Linked DNA regions of Homo sapiens: regions 2 and 3 are each linked to region 1. Evidence: promoter capture Hi-C in human tissues and cell types (Jung and others, 2019). All regions are on one chromosome and are shown on one strand. Each heading gives the region's core, a stretch centred on a gene start or on the middle of the fragment in contact. The rest is flanking DNA. Distances are from core to core; before and after follow the strand shown.

Region 1 (3,422 bases), core at 754-3,253:
AGCCGGTGTGGTGGCGCACGCCTGTAATCCCAGCACTTTGGGAGGCCGAGGCAGGCAGATCACAAGGTCAAGAGATTGAGACCATCCTGGCTAACATGGTGAAACCCGTCTCTACTAAAAATACAAAAAAAAAAAAAATTAGCCGGGCGTGGTGGCAGGCATCTGTAGTCCCAGCTACTCAGGAGGCTGAGGCAGAAGAATTGTTTAAATCTGGGAGGCGGAGCTTGCAGTGATCCGAGATCGTGCTACTGCACTCCAGCCTGGCAACAGAGTGAGACTCCATCTCAAAACAGCAACAAGAACAAAAACAAAATTTAACCAGACGTGGTGGTGGGCACCTGTGATCCCAGCTACTCGAGGGGGCTGAGGCAGGAGAATCACTTGAACCTGGGAGGCGGAGGCTGCAGTGAGCCGAGATGGTGCCACTGCACTCCAGCCTGGACGACAGAGTGAGACTCCATCTCAGAAATAAATAAATACAAATTAAAAAATTAAAGAGATAATAAAAGTGTGTGATTAGTAACAAAAGCCTGCTATGGAAAGAATGCATTTGGGTTAGAGGAGCGACACCATGAGTAACGTAAAGAGTCCCGCGGAGATGGCCACAGCTTCTCTGGAGGCTCCCAGCGCATCCCAGGACCCCGAGTGCAGAGTGTGGGCCAGGACAAGGGAAGCACCTTTCCCATCCCCGGGGGATGTCTTTCTGCAAACATCCTGGGGACGTGGGACATTGTCGCTACTGCTGCTGTTGAGTTATTTCTTGGCACCTGTTTCTGCGGCCAGGTTGCAGGCATCACTGTGGCTAGCTGCCCCAGACGGCCGTGTGGGCCTTAGCAAGGAGGGGCCTCCCAGGTGGCCAGTGCAGAACCCGCAAGTGGGGGGGAGAGATGGCCCGGGAGGCTGCCCCCGCGCTCCACAGCAAGAGGCCACTGGGCTGCTGCCTAAATCCCCAGCCACATGGTGGTAAGGACGACACCCAGAAGATGCACAGACCTCCCTGCACTGGCTCCTGAGTCCCACCTGAGCCGAGAAAACAGGCTCCCGGGTCCCACCTGAGCTGAGAAAACAGGCTTCCCAGAACCCCGGGCAGATGCCATGGGTGTCCTGGGGGGCCCTCGGTTGCCCAGGCCTGAAACTCCTCTTCCTGCAGCGCTCAGAGGGGGGCGGGACTTGGGGACCCAGAAGCGTGGCAAGGGGCTCCAGACGGATCCCCTCTCCAGCCTGTCCTCCACCTGTGACAGGAAGCAGAGGCAGCTCCCTCAGGGGCCCGCCCCCACCTGAGGATCCCTCACAGGACTCCTTGGGCCAGTGGTGCCCTAACCCCATCCTGGGCCTGCTGTGTCCCCTGGCAACCACCAGCTGGGGCTTTAGAAGGGGGCTGGCCCCACCCACAGAGGCTGTGATCACTAGCCGCTTATCCCCATTTTTACATTGCTGGTTTGCTTGTTTTGTTTTTTTGAGACAGGGTCTCACCTTGTCACCCAGGCTAGAGTGCAGTGATGAAATCATGGCAGCCTCCACCTTCCAGGTTCAAGCCATCCTCCTGCCTCAGCCTCCTGAATATCTGGGGCCGCAGGCACATACCACCACGCCCGACTAATTTTTGTAATTTTTTTGTAGAGATGGGGGTCTCACTGTGTTGTCCAGGCTGGTCTGGAACTCCTGGGCTCAAGCGATCCTCCTGCTTTGGCCTCCCAAAGTGCTGGGATTACAGGCATGAGCCACCGTTCCCAGCTGGCCTTAATGTTTTTTATGTTTATAGAGACAGAGAATGGGGGAAGGGAGGTTTCGCTATGTTGCCCAGGCTGGTCTTGAACTCCCGGCCTCCAGAGATCTTCCCGCAGGGCCTCCCAAAGCGCGGGGATTGCAGGTGCGCGCGGGGCCAGCGGCCCCCCGGGCGGGAGAGGAGGGCGTGGCCGGGGGGCGTGGCCGCGGGGCGGGGAGGGGGCGTGGCCCGGGGGGCAGGGCGGTGTGACGCGCGCGCCGCGGATCCCGGAAGCGGTGTCAGATGCTGGGGAGCCGGGCGGGCGGGTGCGGTGGCGGCGGGCGGCGCGGGGGCACTTGTTGTTCTTCGCGAAGTCGGAGCCCGAGCGCCAGGCGGCGGCGGCGGCCGAGGGGAGCGCGACAGTGAGCGCCGGCGCGAGGACAGCGCGTGCCCGCGAGGAGCCGCCGCGCGCCCGCGCCCTCCGCGCGACGCCAGGTGAGGGGCGGTGGGGCAGCGGGGCCCGGGCCGCGGCGGGGACGGGGACCGGGGCGCGGGGCCGGGGCTACCTGGCCGCTGAGTCACGGCCGCCTGGGGGCGCGGGCCGAGGGTGGCGGGGTTGGGTGCGCGGGGCCCGAGACCCTCATGCGGCCCGCGGCGCGGCCCGGGCACCTGCCCAGGTGGGCCCCGCCCCGCAGGCCCGGGGGCTTCCCCGGGACGCGAGGCTCTCTCCCCTGCACGTGCCGCCCGGGCCATGCTTGCCGCGCCGGGGGCCCCAGGGCGCGGACCCCAGACCTGGGAGGACGAGGATCCACGCGGGTCGGCGGCGCGCATCGGGCCCGCGCCTTCACACCTGCGGGGGGCGGGGCGGGGCGGGCGCCACGTGCGGGCGGTGCGGGGAGGGCGCGGGCGCGTGGATTCTCCGCGGCTTCCGCCCCAGCGTGGCTTCCGCGTGCGGCCCCGGACTGCCCCCCGCGCTTCCTCCCGGTGACGGGCGGCGCTCTGGCCCAGTGGCTGGGGTCACGCGTGCCCGGGAACGGGGTGGGGGTAACCGGGTCTCCCCACAGGCGGGATCCTGGGACTGGTGTCGCTCTCAGCCGCCCACCTGCCAGGGTTGCTGGAAGGAAGGCCGTGGGGAGGCGGGAGGGGGGCAGGTGACAGTGGCCCCAAGGCTCGTCCCTTTGCTCACGTGTGGGGCAGGGGCTCCGGCCTCTTCCCGCTCCCACTGCGTGAGTTCTTCTGTGCCTCTGTCAAGTTCAGGAAACTGTGTATGTGCCCGTGACTGTGTGTGTCTGCGTCTGCACAGCCTCTAGATCCTGGGGGGTGGGACCAGGCGCCACCGAGAAACCCAGAAAGCCAGGACCCCGCCTGGCCTTGGCCCTTGACCTGGGTCCGCCTGGGACACAGCAGTGGCCCTGCACTGCATTCTCGCGCTCACACCGTGTGTGTCCGTGTTCGCGGGGCCTCCCGTGTCCCTCTCCTGGTGTCCTGCGTCCCTGAGCATGCTGTTTTCTTGCTTCTTAAGTAGCTCTTGTAGCTGAGGCAGAAATTAGATCCACTCACCATTCATTCACCAGGTGACCCACAGGCAGCCAGCCAATCTCTGGCCAGGTGCCTGGCCTTGGGAAGATCCTGAGACTCAAAACGCCCCCCACCGCCCCCCATCGTGGTCTAGGGGATATCTGTGTGGTTCGGCTCTGGCAGCGCCCTTCCCACCCCT
Region 2 (3,052 bases), core at 211-2,710, 770 kb after region 1:
TTGAATCAGGTAATGCGATCCCTCCAAATTCATTCCTTTTGCTTAGGATTGCTTTGCCTTTTCGGGCTCATTGTTTCCATGTGAATTTTTGGATCTTTTTCTAATTCTGTGAAAAATGACGTTGGTATCTTGGTAGGAATCACACTGACTCTGTAGATTGCTTTTGGCAGTGTGGTCATTTTCACAATATTGATTCTCCCAATCCCTGAGCACGGGATGTTTTTCCATTTGTTTGTGTCATCTATGATTTATTTCATCAGTGTTTTATTGTTCTCCTTGTAGAGATCTTTCACATCCTTGGGTAACTATATTCCTAGGGTGTTTGGTTGTTGTTATTGTAGCTATTGTAAATGGGAATGAGTTCTTGATTTGATTCTCAGCTTGGTCGCTGCTGGCAGATAGCATGCTACTGATTTGTGTATACTGATTTTGTAACCTGAAACTTCACTGAATTCTTTTCTCAAATCTAGGAGTCTTCTAGAGGAGTCTTGAGGGTGTTCTAGGTATAATATCATATCATCAGCAAACAGAGATAGTTTGACTTCCTCTCTTCCAATCCAGATGCACTTTATTTCTCTTGCCTGATTGCTATATAAATGGGGCTATTTAATACCTTATTTAATGTGATGTAACATTAAGATATTTTGAAACAGCCGGGTGTGGTGGCTCACACCTGTAATCCCAGCACTTTGGGAGGCCGAGGCGGGTGGATCACCTGAGGTCAGGAGTTCGAGACCAGCCTAGCCAACATGGTTAAACCCCATCTCTACAAAAATACAAAAATTAGCCAGGCATGGTGGCGGACACCTGTAATCCCAGCTACTCAGGAGGCTGAGGCATGAGAATCGCTTGAACCTGGGAGGCAGAGGTTGCAGTGAGCTGAGATCACGCCATTGCACTCCAGCCTGGGCAACAAGAGTGAGACTCTGTCTCAAAAAAGAAAAAAATATATACAAATGGCCAAAAAATATATGCAAAATGCTCAAAATCACTAATCCATCACAGGGACATGCAAATTAAAACCACAATGAGATAGTATCTTACCCCAGCCAGAATGGCTATTATTAAAAAGTCAAAGAACAACAGATGTTGGCGTAGATGTGGTACAGAGGGAATGCTTACACGCTACCGATGGGAATGAAATTAGTACAGCCTTTGCGGAAAACAGTATGGAGATTTCTCAGAAAACTAAAGGCACATCTACCATTCAATCCAGTAGTCCCACTACTGGGTAATCACCCAAAAGAAAAGAAATAATTACATCAAAAAGGGGACGGGCATGGTGGCTCACACCTGTAATCCCAGCACTTTGGGAGGCCGAGGCGGGCAGATCACTTGAGGTCAGGAGTTCGAGACCAGCCTGGCCAACATGGTGAAACCCCATCTCTACTAAAAATACAAAATTAGCCAGGCACGGTGGCACATGCCTATAATCCCAGCTATTTGGGAGGCTGAGGCAGGAGAATCGCTTGAACCCAAGAGGGACAGGTTGCAGTGAGCCGAGATTGTGCCACTGCACTGCAGCCTGGGCAACAGGAGCAAAACCCCGCCGCAAAAAAAAAAAAAAAAAAAAAAAAAAATACCTGCACATGCCCATTTATCGCAGCACAATTCACAGTTGCAAAGATATGGAATCAACCTAAGTGCCCGTCAACCGATGAGTAGATGCAGAAAATGTGGTTCATATACATCATGGAATTCTACTCAGTCATAGAAAAGAATGAAATCATGTCTTTTGCAGCAACTTGGATGAGACTGGAGGCCATTATCCTAAGTGAAGTAACTCAGGATCAGAAACCCAAATACCACATGTTCTCACTTATAAGTGAGAGCTGAACTACGGGGACACAAAAGCAGGCAAAAGTGGGATAACAGACACTGGACCCTCAGAGGGCGGGAGGGGGTGAAGGATGAAAAATTACCTACTGTGTACCATGGACATTATTTTGGTGACAAGTACAATAAAAACCCAGCCTCGACCAACGAACAATTCATCTACATAACCAAAAACCAGCCCTAAAACTATTGAAATAAAAATATTTTTTTAAAAGAAACACTAAAAAAACACAAAAAATGTTAAAGCACCTAGCATGGTGCCCAGGGCCCAAGCTTTTCTTTATTCTTATTTTTAGAGAGGATCTCGCTCTGTCGTGCAGGCTGGAGTACAGTAGTGCGATCACAGCTCGCACAGTGCGAGATCACCTCGAACTCCCAGGCTCTAGTGATCTTCCTGCCTCAGACTCCCGAGTAGCCGGGGCTACAGGCCTGCCCCATCATGTGCAGCTAACTTTTTATTTTTTTTGTAGAGGCAAAGTCTCACTATGGTGCCCAGGCTCTGAACTTTTCTTTTTCGTTTTATTTTTGGTTTGGGTTGTTTTGTTTTGTTTTTTGAGACGGAGTCTCATTCTGTCCCCCAGGCTGGAGTGCAGTGGTGCAATCTCGGCTCTCTGCAACCGCAGCCTCCCAGGTTCCAGCAATTCTCCTGCCTCAGCCTCCCGGGTAGCTGGGATTACAGGCATGCACCAGCACGCCCAGGTAATTTTTGTATTTTTAGTAGAGACGGGGTTTCACCATGTTGGCCAGGCTGGTCTCGAACTCCTAACCTCAGGTGATCCACCCGCCTCAGCCTCCCAAAGTGCTGGGATTACAGGCATGAGCCACCACACCCAACCTGGGTTTTGGTTTTGTTTTTGTTTTTTGTTTTTTGTTTTTGAGATGGAGTCTTGCTCTGTCCCCCAGCCTGGAGTGCAGTGGCACGATCTCAGCTCACTGCAACCTCCACCTCCCAGGTTCAAGAGATTCTCATACCTCAGCCTCCCGAGCAGCTGGGATTACAGGCACATGCTACCACGCCTAGCTAATTTTTTGGATTTTTGGTAGAGACAGGGTTTCGCCATGATGGCCAGGCTGGTCTCGAACTCCTGACCTCAAGTGATCCTCCCACCTCGGCCTCCTAAAGTGCTGGGATTACATGCGTGACCCACCATGCCTGGTCTGAGCTTTTCTTTTTTAATGGGCCTATACTCCTGATACCAAATTCCCAGATCAAACC
Region 3 (3,125 bases), core at 1-2,500, 990 kb after region 1:
ACTATGTCCCAAAACCTGTTCCAGGTCTGAATGACACCAGGTCGCTGCTGTCTTGCGGCTGACATTCAGGTAGAGGTAAGGAGAGGGGCTCCAAGGGCACTTAAAGAATTTAAAATGCCATCTCAGGCGTGAACATAACTCCGAGGGGGGCAGTTTAGCCACGGTGGTGGCGGTGGTGGTCGTGGTGGTCGCAGAGACCCTGCTTAGGAGGGCACGGGAAGACAGCGCAGCCACGGGCAGAGCCGCCTCCGTCCACGCTTCCGGAGGACGTGGCGGGCAGGGGGCTCACACCCTGCTCAGGCGACCCTTGGCCACTTCCGGGCCCCTCGCCCCTCACCCTCGGCTGCCGGCGCGCATTCCTGCCGCCCCCGCTCGTGCGAGGGGCGGGCCCGGGCCCGTGGGAAGGGCCGGGGATGGGGGCCGTGTGCCGGGGAGGCGGGGTGGGGAGGGCGCACAGCTGGGCCGCATCTGGCCCGAGCGCAAGGAGACCAAATGGGACAGAAGGCGGCCTTTCATCCGGCGAGGGAAGTGGCGGCCTTCGTTTCTCCTCGCCATGGGGCGCCTGAGGATTTCGGGGAGCCAACCCTCCCGACGGAGGGCCAGGATCGAGGAAATCAGCCAGGGAGGAAGGAGTGGAATTTGGTTCTGGTGCTTTCTCGTTAGAACCTCGTGTCCCCACCTGCGGCACAGGTGGCCAAGCTCTTGCTCTGTACAAATAACGGCTCCCCTGAACCGAGCGCTCGGGAAGACCCAGGCGCCACCCCAGTTTGCAAGGCCTGCCGCGTCCCAAGGGGAGGAAGCCGTGCTCAGGAGGGGAAGCGCACAGCGAGGAAGTAGGATGTCCCCCGCGGTGCGTCGGAGCCCAGAGCCCGGGTCTCAGCACCCTGCCCGCTGCGCCGAGGGCGCGCCCCTCCCGTGCCGGGACGCCCGGTGCATCCCCGGACGGCGCTGGCCAGGCTGGGTTTCCTCTTCAGGGACACCGGCGCGGGCCGGGCCCGTCCCCAAGCCCCTCGGCGGCCCGCAGGGGCTACCCGGGGCGGGGGGGGTGCGGGGCGTGCACGTGCGCGCCGGGGGCGGGGCCGCTGCGCCCTCTGGGCAGTTCCCAGCCCCCAGCCGCGGCCCCACGTGGGTCTGCGGGCGTGGAGCGGCGACCGGCGCGAGGCCCCGCCCCCGAGCCCGGGAGCCAATGAGCGCACGGGGGCGGGACCGGGGCGGGGAGGTTTAAGAGCGCGGGACACTGGTGCTGCGCTGCTGGACTGCGCCGCCGGAGCGACGGGCTTCGGGTCGGTGCAAGGCAGGCGCACGGGGAAGGGCGCGCCGCGCGGCCGCCACCCCACCATGCTCAAGCGCTGCGGCCGGCGCCTGCTGCTGGCGCTGGCGGGCGCGCTGCTCGCCTGCCTGCTGGTGCTCACCGCCGACCCGCCGCCGCCTCCACTGCCCGCCGAGCGCGGCCGGCGCGCGCTGCGCAGCCTGGCGGGCCCCGCGGGGGCTGCCCCGGCGCCCGGGCTGGGGGCGGCGGCGGCGGCGCCCGGGGCGCTGGTCCGCGACGTGCACAGTCTGTCCGAGTACTTCAGCCTGCTCACCCGCGCGCGCAGAGATGCGGGCCCGCCGCCCGGGGCTGCCCCCCGCCCCGCCGACGGCCACCCGCGCCCCCTGGCCGAGCCGCTCGCGCCCCGAGACGTCTTCATCGCTGTCAAGACCACCAAAAAGTTCCACCGCGCGCGCCTCGACCTGCTGCTGGAGACCTGGATCTCGCGCCACAAGGAGATGGTGAGCCCCCCGCGGCCTGGACTGGCGGGCGAGCGGGGCGGGGACCCACCATCTGGTCCAGCTGGTGGCAGTGTCCCATGGGAGTCAGGCTGCATCCCCATCCAGCCACTAGGGCCATCTGTGGGCGACGCCAGTGCACCCCGGTGCACCCAGTTTGCCTGCTGGGGCCACTCTCCCGTTACAGTTGTGTTACTGTCCCCGGGGCCCCGCCTCCTGTCCAGCTCCAGAGTCCTGGATGGCTGCAGGACCCTACACCAGTCTCCAGTGCTTGGGGTTGGTGCCCTGTGATACTTCTCACCCCGTAAACATTGGAGCGCATTCATAGGGCATTATGTCCTCAAACTTCCACAAGCAAATTCTGTTCGGACCCACCCTCAGCTCAGACCCCTTCCTGGGGAGAAAGGCTCTTCCTTTAGAGAAGTGAGGGGTTCTGACCTCTGGGCCCTTTCCTCATCACAGTGTTAAGGTACGGGGAGGGAGGGAAGTCATTGCTGGTTGGTGGGTCCTGGGGAGTACATCTCAAAGAACTCCAGGTTTTGGGGTCTGTGTGGGGACCCTCCCCGCACAGTGCAGTAGTCTCTGAGGCCTGCAACCTTGGGCACAGCCCACTTCAGTTGGGCATCAGCTTCTTACACACACATAATTAAGACACACCCCACTTTGAACATTTCCCTCGAGGCCACAGCAGGACGGTTGGGCTGGGGCGGGATGGGGACAGTGTGTGGGGCTTGCAGTCGGGGACTGGGGGGGTGTCTCTGGGCTGGGAGATGCAGAGGCATTTGCTGTGAGGGTGGGGGCTCAGGGAAGACCCTGCACGCCTTCCTCCCTGCTCAAACCCCGGAGACCCAGGGCCTTCTGACCTGGCGCTGTCCTGTTTTGGGGCACTGTGGGTGGGTGGGAGCAGGGCTTGGTGAGGTCATGAGGGCGACGGGGAGGGGCAGGGTCCTCCCTGGTCCTGGCGTGGGGAAGGGGCCCTGGGAACCCCATGGCAGCCTCCTGGGAACACAGCGTCCCATTCCCAGGGGCTCAGCGGGCTGGCGGGAGGGGGCGGCGGGGGCCGTGGGTTTTGTTTGGCGGCCGGGCCGTTAGGATTCCCAGCGCCGGGCGGCTCTCACGCCGGCCCCTTGGGCAAGGTAACAAAGCCCCTTTCTCCAGCGAGAAAGGCGTCGGGCCCCTTGTGTGCAGCTACGCGCTCCGTGGGAACCGCTGCTGGCGTGCTGGCCACTCAGGTTGCCTGGCGATGAGGGGACCAGCGGGCCCCCCCAGCATCTCTTACTGACAGTCCTTTTGGGGCACCATCCCTGAGCCTGGCCCCCCCACCCCCAGCACTCAAGCCTTACTGCTATGTGATCTTG

The links. The method cuts DNA at HindIII sites, captures the fragments that hold promoters and counts their contacts. A contact is called where the count stands out against the background at its distance.
Region 2: a contact is called between a fragment that was not itself captured here and the fragment with the promoter of MAFK in region 1, in 2 of the 25 tissues and cell types used here (dorsolateral prefrontal cortex and lymphoblastoid cells).
Region 3: the fragment with the promoter of LFNG here is called in contact with the fragment with the promoter of MAFK in region 1 in 1 of the 25 tissues and cell types used here (lymphoblastoid cells).

The regions. Positions count from the first base shown.
Region 1 is chr7:1,528,699-1,532,120 of GRCh38, forward strand. MAFK (MAF bZIP transcription factor K) reads left to right here and starts at 2,004. Exons shown (of 3, transcript NM_002360.4): 1 at 2,004-2,200. RefSeq lists silencers at 1,834-2,103, 2,594-2,723. The HindIII fragment of the contact is 23,868 bases long and covers 1-3,422 here.
Region 2 is chr7:2,295,998-2,299,049 of GRCh38, forward strand. The region is part of intron 1 of SNX8 (sorting nexin 8); the gene reads right to left. Among named protein-coding and RNA genes, the nearest start is that of SNX8, 17 kb to the right of the region's middle. The HindIII fragment of the contact is 3,599 bases long and covers 1-3,052 here.
Region 3 is chr7:2,518,524-2,521,648 of GRCh38, forward strand. LFNG (LFNG O-fucosylpeptide 3-beta-N-acetylglucosaminyltransferase) reads left to right here and starts at 1,251. Exons shown (of 8, transcript NM_001040167.2): 1 at 1,251-1,770. The coding sequence starts at 1,339. RefSeq lists silencers at 777-1,306, 1,317-1,426. The HindIII fragment of the contact is 23,923 bases long and covers 1-3,125 here.